Regions from separate parts of the Homo sapiens genome. Here region 2 is linked to region 1. Evidence: promoter capture Hi-C in human tissues and cell types (Jung and others, 2019). All regions are on one chromosome and are shown on one strand. Each heading gives the region's core, a stretch centred on a gene start or on the middle of the fragment in contact. The rest is flanking DNA. Distances are from core to core; before and after follow the strand shown. Region 1 holds the start of WDR87 (WD repeat domain 87). Region 2 overlaps LOC124904713 (a long non-coding RNA gene).

The links. The method cuts DNA at HindIII sites, captures the fragments that hold promoters and counts their contacts. A contact is called where the count stands out against the background at its distance.
Region 2: a fragment that was not itself captured here is called in contact with the fragment with the promoter of WDR87 in region 1 in 1 of the 25 tissues and cell types used here (dorsolateral prefrontal cortex).

What each region holds. Positions count from the first base shown.
Region 1 is chr19:37,904,899-37,907,994 of GRCh38, forward strand. WDR87 (WD repeat domain 87) reads right to left here and starts at 1,696. Exons shown (of 6, transcript NM_001291088.2): 1 at 1,601-1,696. SIPA1L3 (signal induced proliferation associated 1 like 3) reads left to right here and starts at 2,310. Exons shown (of 22, transcript NM_015073.3): 1 at 2,310-2,460. RefSeq lists a silencer at 2,422-2,661 and an enhancer at 2,962-3,021. The HindIII fragment of the contact is 24,391 bases long and covers 1-3,096 here.
Region 2 is chr19:38,935,470-38,938,801 of GRCh38, forward strand. LOC124904713 (a long non-coding RNA gene) reads right to left here. Exons shown (of 2, transcript XR_007067253.1): 2 at 1-1,383. Among named protein-coding and RNA genes, the nearest start is that of MRPS12, 6.2 kb to the left of the region's middle. The HindIII fragment of the contact is 4,061 bases long and covers 1-3,332 here.

The DNA of each region.
Region 1 (3,096 bases), core at 446-2,945:
TGCCTCATAACATTTTAATTTTATTTGATTTTAATTAACTTAAATTGTAGAACTGAGGCCAGGCATGGTGGCTCACGCCTGTAATCCCAGCATTTTGGGAGGCCGAGGCTGGCAGATCACGTCAGGAGATCGAGACCATCCTGGCTAACATGGTGAAACCCAGTCTCTACTAAAAATACAAAAATTAGCTGGGTGTGATGGCGCCTGCCTGTAATCCCAGCTACTTGGGAGGCTGAGGCAGGAGAGTCACTTGAACCAGGGAGTCAGAGGTTGCAGGGAGCCGAGGTGGCGCCACTGCACTCCAGCCTGGCGACAGAGTGGGACTCCGTCTCCAAAAAAAAAAAAAAAAAAAGTAGAACTGAAGCAATGAAAACATTTTTCCATTAACCTAACTTGGAATAATATTTTGGATATATTTGGGTTAAATAAAATATTAAAATTAATTTCATAGCTGGGTGAGATGGCTCACGCCTATAATCCCAGCACTTTGCGAGGCTGAGGTAGGAACATGTCTTGAGGCCAGGAGTTCAATACCAGCCTGGGCAACATAGCAAGAAAAAAAAAAGTAAATAATAATGATAAATAAAATGAATTTTACCTGTTTATGTCAAAATTAAAATTGCATATGTGGCTTGCATTACACATAAAAACACACACATATATAATTTTTTTTTTTTTTAAAGAGACAGGGTTCTGCTTTGTCGCCCAAGCTGGAGGGCAGTGGTGCAATCATGGTTCACTGCAGTCTCAAACTCCTGGGCTTAAGCGATACTCAGCCTCTTAAATAGCTGGGACTATGGCCACATGCCACCACGCCTAGCTAGTTTTTTAGTTTTAGTAGAGATAGGGTCTTGCTATGTTACCCGGCCAGTCTCCAACTCCTGGCCTTAAGTGATCCTCCTGCCTCGGTGGCTCAAAGTGCAGGGTATATTTCTCTTAGCTAGTATTGCTCTACATTGTTGTAGTCTGGTGGTGGCCTGATATCCCTACTGGACTGAAAACTCCCTGAAGGTAGGAGTCCAGTCTGTCTGGATTTCTCTTGTGTCTCCATAATCACCCAACCTGACATGGAATAGGTGGTTAATCCATTTTTGTTGAATGAGTGGAAAAATGTGCTCTCCCAGGAAGAAACATATGCTTCCCAGCTTCAAGTGTTAGTGAACATCTTCCTAGAAGGCAGGCTGAGGCGGAAAGGGTATTGACTCCGGCTTCTCCACCAGAGGACCTTGCAATTCCAGTCAATTCCCTCGGTAACTCTTATGGAGGAGTGGCAATATACCTTAAAAAAGGAGTGTGTGTTGCGGGGTATTCCGCTGCTTGGTTATGTCACCAGGTGGATTAAATTTGGACAAAATTTCCCAAGGTGTAGGTACTCTACAAACACTAGTTACCCTCAGGAATGTGCGATCAACAAAAGAATGCAAGATAACAAGGCCCCTAGGCAGCCCCTGGGTCTTGTGGCTCCCGTCGAAGGCAGAGCTCTGGAGCCGCCTACGCCGGGGACAGGCGACTACACCTGGGGCCCCTCACCCTCGGGCCTCCTGCACGTGGCAGGGAAGGCAGGGCGTCTCTATCTCAAAGCATTGGCTGCGCCTGTTACCTGCGACAGGATTCCCGACAAGGGACGGGTACGGCGTGTGCACTCAGGAGCTCCTAGAGCTAGGGGCAGCAACTAAGAAGCTACCTGGCGGATGTTGCGAGAGGACTCCGCCCACAGAACGGTTGGCCCCCAACCCCGCAGCCGGCGGACTTCCCGAGGCCAGGGGTCTGAACGCGCGTGCGCATGGGCGCGCGCCCGGCGCGAGAACGCGCGCGCGCTCTCGAAAGAAAAAAAAAAAAAATCCTCTCCGCGGGGTCCCGCGGCAATTTAGGCCGGGGTCTGCCGACGACCGCGCGTGCGCGGGCGTGCATCTACGCCCTCCTCCACCGCCCCCTCCGCTGGGGGTCTAGCGCACTGCTCCGCTTCCCCCGTTTCCCCCGGGCTAGCGTCCTAGGGGTAAGTGACTCGAGCCTGGCAGAGAGTGAGGGAGAGGTTCCGCCGAATGAAGGGAGGAGGTAGACGGGGCCAGGAGAAAGGAGAAACCGCCCCGGCGGGGCGAAGAGCGCGGCTCTCGAGCTGTAGTCTGCAGGAGACACACCTCCCTCCCTCACGCCCCTCGGGGCTGCGGAAGTGCTCTACAGACTGGAGCTGCACGAAGGCGACCAGCGGACTACCGTTCCTAGGAGGCAGCGCGGCGGTGCGCCTACGGCTCCCGGCAGCCCCCGCGCGCCATTCTCTTTTTGAGTTCGCGGCCGGCTAGGGCGAAACTACAGTTCCCAGGAGGACTCGCGCGAAGCGGCTTGGAAGTGGGCAGCCTGGAAGTCACTCGGGCCACCGGAGCTGGCGGCGTCTCCAGCGAGCGGCGCGGAGCTGGACGCCGCGATCGTGGGGCCCGCGAGGCGGGCAGCCGGGGCGTCCAGGTACGTGGCTCCGGGTGCAGGATCGGCCTCGCGCAAGGGTGGCGGGGAATCGGTGGCTGCCCGGACCCCGAGGGTCAGCGCGGGCGGACGGCCGGGTGTGGGTACTGGCCGTGGGGGGCGGCGGCGCCGGGACTCGCGCCCTCCGGACCCAGCCGGACTCGTGCCCGCATGGCTCAACTTTCCAGGCGTGCACCCCGGCGCTGTGGTGAAGAGCTTGGAGGCGGGGAGCGGTGGATTCGCGTCCCGGCTGTGCCACTCGGGAGCCGCGATCTGGGAAAACCGCGCCGAACCTCAATTTCCCCTGCAGTAAAACGGAGTAGGAGAGCATCTTGGCGGAGACTCTGTTGAGATAATATAATAAAACATTTGGCACATAGGAGGCACTTACTACGTATTTGGGTTATTGTTAGCTCTCCGAAAAATGAGGTGAAGATGTTATCGATTGCATAGGGTGAGGATTAGTTGAGCGTGTGCATGTAAAGAGGTGAGTCCTTAGTTAGCACCCAATGCAGGCTAGCTGCTGTTAACCGAGATTATTTTGTTAAGAGCGTTGGTTTGGAAGGCAGAGAGACCCCAGGTTCAAATTTGAACATTTACCAGCTGTGTGACTTTGGGCAACTGGCTTCACCTCTCTGT
Region 2 (3,332 bases), core at 426-2,925, 1.0 Mb after region 1:
TGCTATTGTTTGTGGTACAGGAACCCCTTTAAGCCGTTTTCCATCCTGGGTGAGCCAGGTGTTCCTTGCCCTCATTCCAGTAAACCCACGACCTTCAGGGTGGGGGTCATGGCCATCATGAACATGTCACAGTGCTGCAGAGATTTTGTTTATGGCCAGTTTTGGGGCCAGTTTATGGCCAGATTCAGGGGCCTGTTCCCAACATGTCCCCTTTTTTGTTTTGCAAAGTGATAAAAGCAAAGGCAGCTTTGTCACGGTGAGCTACTTCTCACAGGAGTCAGGATCCGCATCTGCACACTATACAAAGACAAACAACACAGAGTAAAAGCACAATCATCATTGAAATCACAGAGCCTCCAAGTGTTTTTATCCATTTGAATGGGTTACTAGCTGCTAATCTGTCTGCAGCTCCTTCAAGCACTCCAGTTCCTGGCATTAAGTTCACGTGTGCCTGGGATACTTTAAATATTTGTTCTTTCAATTTTGCAATATCCAAATACAAGTTTGTAGAGTGGCCTTCTAGATGCTTTTTTATTCTTTCCCAAATTTTGATTTTATTAAGAGCTATTAACAGTTTCCACAAATGCTTATGTTTAGCTCCTAGAGCAGGCCATATCATTTGAGGCTGAGGTGCCACTATACTGCCATGGTTCCAGATAATAGGAACTCTTGCTGTATTTCTTACCATTTCTATCATCTGACCATTTTGTTCAGATGAGCTGATCACAGTGTGGCCATGGCATGCAGACTGAGAGGTGCAGTTCAAGCTAAACATCCCCATAGGTGACCAATTAATAATGATTCCATAGGAATTGTTGTGCAGCACCTCTGCCTGTTCTGCAAAGCAATCTTCCTAAACAAGTACGTTCATTTTTGCTAACTGGGTCCAATCCTGTTTACAAATATGTTTTTGAGGGCAGTATGCCTCAATTATAGGAGCAGATTTATTATGAGATCAGAAAGCTTGTATAACTGTGTCATAGAGTGATTACATCCAGGCATTATTGCCAGCCAAGATTGATAAATATGCCCAATAAGTATAATTGTCCTCTGTGTCAGCCCTTATTGAAGGAATACTCATGGCAGTGGTGATCATCGCTATCATAGCTACCATTAAATTACTCATTGCGACTGGTTGTCCCACTTTCCTCAGGTTTTCTTCCACCATCTGTGACAGCTTCTTGATCTGTCTCCAGGTGGGTGGCTGTGTTTGACAGGTGTTGCTCGTGACAGTTGGGGTCTTCCTCAGCGTCAGTCTCGACATGGCTGCAACCGGGGGTGGGGGGGGTCCTCAGTTTCCTCCCGGAATCTCTTCCTCAGCATCTGGCTCATGATAAGGTTTCAGGTGTCTTGATGGTATCCAAATCGGCTGTTGAGTCAGTCCTGGAGAAACACAAGCATAACCTCTACCCCAAGTTATTATTTTACCTATTTCCTAACTTTTTGTTATTGGATCTCTCCACCAAACTAGTTGTTCTGCTTCTGTCTTTGCAGCTGGTTTCTGTAGATGCTGTTCAGCTACTGATAGGATCTGGCCTTTAGGCAGGCTCAAAAAATTTAAAGTTAACAATGCTAGATTCAGTTGCATATGGGGTGTCCCGTAGTCCTTGTTTTCCCCCCTTTTTTTTGCTTTTGCAACTGCTGTTTCAGGGAGAGATTCATTCTTTCCACTATGGCTTGTCCTTGAGAATTATATGGGATACCAGTAATGTGTTTAATATTCCGTATAGAGAAAAATGTAGCTAGAGCTCGGCTAGTGTAGCCTGGGGCTTTATCTGTTTTAATAGAAGCTGGAATGCCCATCACTGCAAAACACTGCAAAAGGTGACGCCTGGAAGAGGTGTATGAGCCCTAATGTGAGTGATGTAAAAAGGGTGCATTCTACTCCTAACTGCTGTTTGCAGTTGGGTAAATAAAATCATCAGTTGTTCATCTGCAGGAAATTGTAACTGAGCATTTTCAGTTAATTGTGTGGAATGAATCACGTATGAAGAGTCAGAAATCACATTAATAGGCATATGAAAAGCAGTCACTACCTCAATTACAGCTACAGGCTCCACTTTTTGAGCTGAAGTATAGGGCATCTGAAAAACTTTACTTTTTGAGCCAGAATAAGAAGCTTTACCATTACTAGACCCATCTGTAAAAACATTTTCAGCACCTTCAATTGGTTTAAATTTAGTTATTTTAGGGAGAATCCAATTAGTTAATTTCAAAAATTAAAACAGTTTTGTTTAGGAAAATGGTTATCGAGAATACCCACAAAGTCAGCTTAATTGGTTTGCCAAGTAAGACTATTTATAAAAGCTTGCTGTATTTGTGCCTTTGTGAGAGGGATAATAATTTTTCCAGGATCATATCCATGTAATTTAACAATCCGAGTTCTCCCATTTCCTATCATAGTAGCAATTTGATCCAAATAAGGAGTTAGAGTCCGTGAATTAGTATGTGGAAGAAAAAGCCACTCTACAAGATCTCACTCTTGAACAATAACACCAGTAGGTGAATGCTGAGTTGGAAAAATTAGCAAATCTAGAGTCTTCTCTGGATCTAATCTATTTATTTGAGCTTTATGGACTTGCTTTTCGATTAGCCGCAGCTCTGCCTCAGCTTCTCTTGTTAATTACCGAGGGCTTGTGAGACCAGGATCTCCTCTAAGGATAGAAAATAGATTACTCATGGCATAGGTAGGAATGCCTAGAGCAGGTCGTATCCAATTAATGTCCCCTAGTAATTTTTGAAAGTCCTTTAATGTTTTCAATTGATTCCTATGTATGGTTGCTTTCTGTGGCACAATGGTAGTGTCATTTACTAAGGTCCCCAAGTAGGAGTAAGGAGTAGTAGTCTGAATTTTGTCAGGAGCTATAATTAAACCAGCGCAAGAAATCGAATTTTGTAAGTGATCATAACATTGGAGTAATACTTCTCGAGTGGGGGCAGCACAAAGTATATCATCCATATAATGAATAATGTAACACTGTGAAAACTTTTAACGAGTAGGTTCAATTGCTTGCCCTACATAAGTCTGGCAAATTGTTGGGCTGTTTAACATGCCTTGTGGCAATACTTTCCAGTGAAAACGCTTAGCAGGCTGCAGGTTGTTTACTGCAGGAATTGTAAATGCAAACTGTTCACAGTCTTGCTCAGCTAAGGGGATAGTAAAGAAACAGTCTTTTAAATCTATGACTATTAAAGGCCAATTTTTTGGAATCATAGCAGGAGAAGGCAATCCTGGCTGTAATGTACCCATGGGTTGTATAACTGAATTAATGGCTCTTAAGTCAGTTAACATTCTCCGTTTATCTGATTCTTTTCTTAATTACGAAAACTGG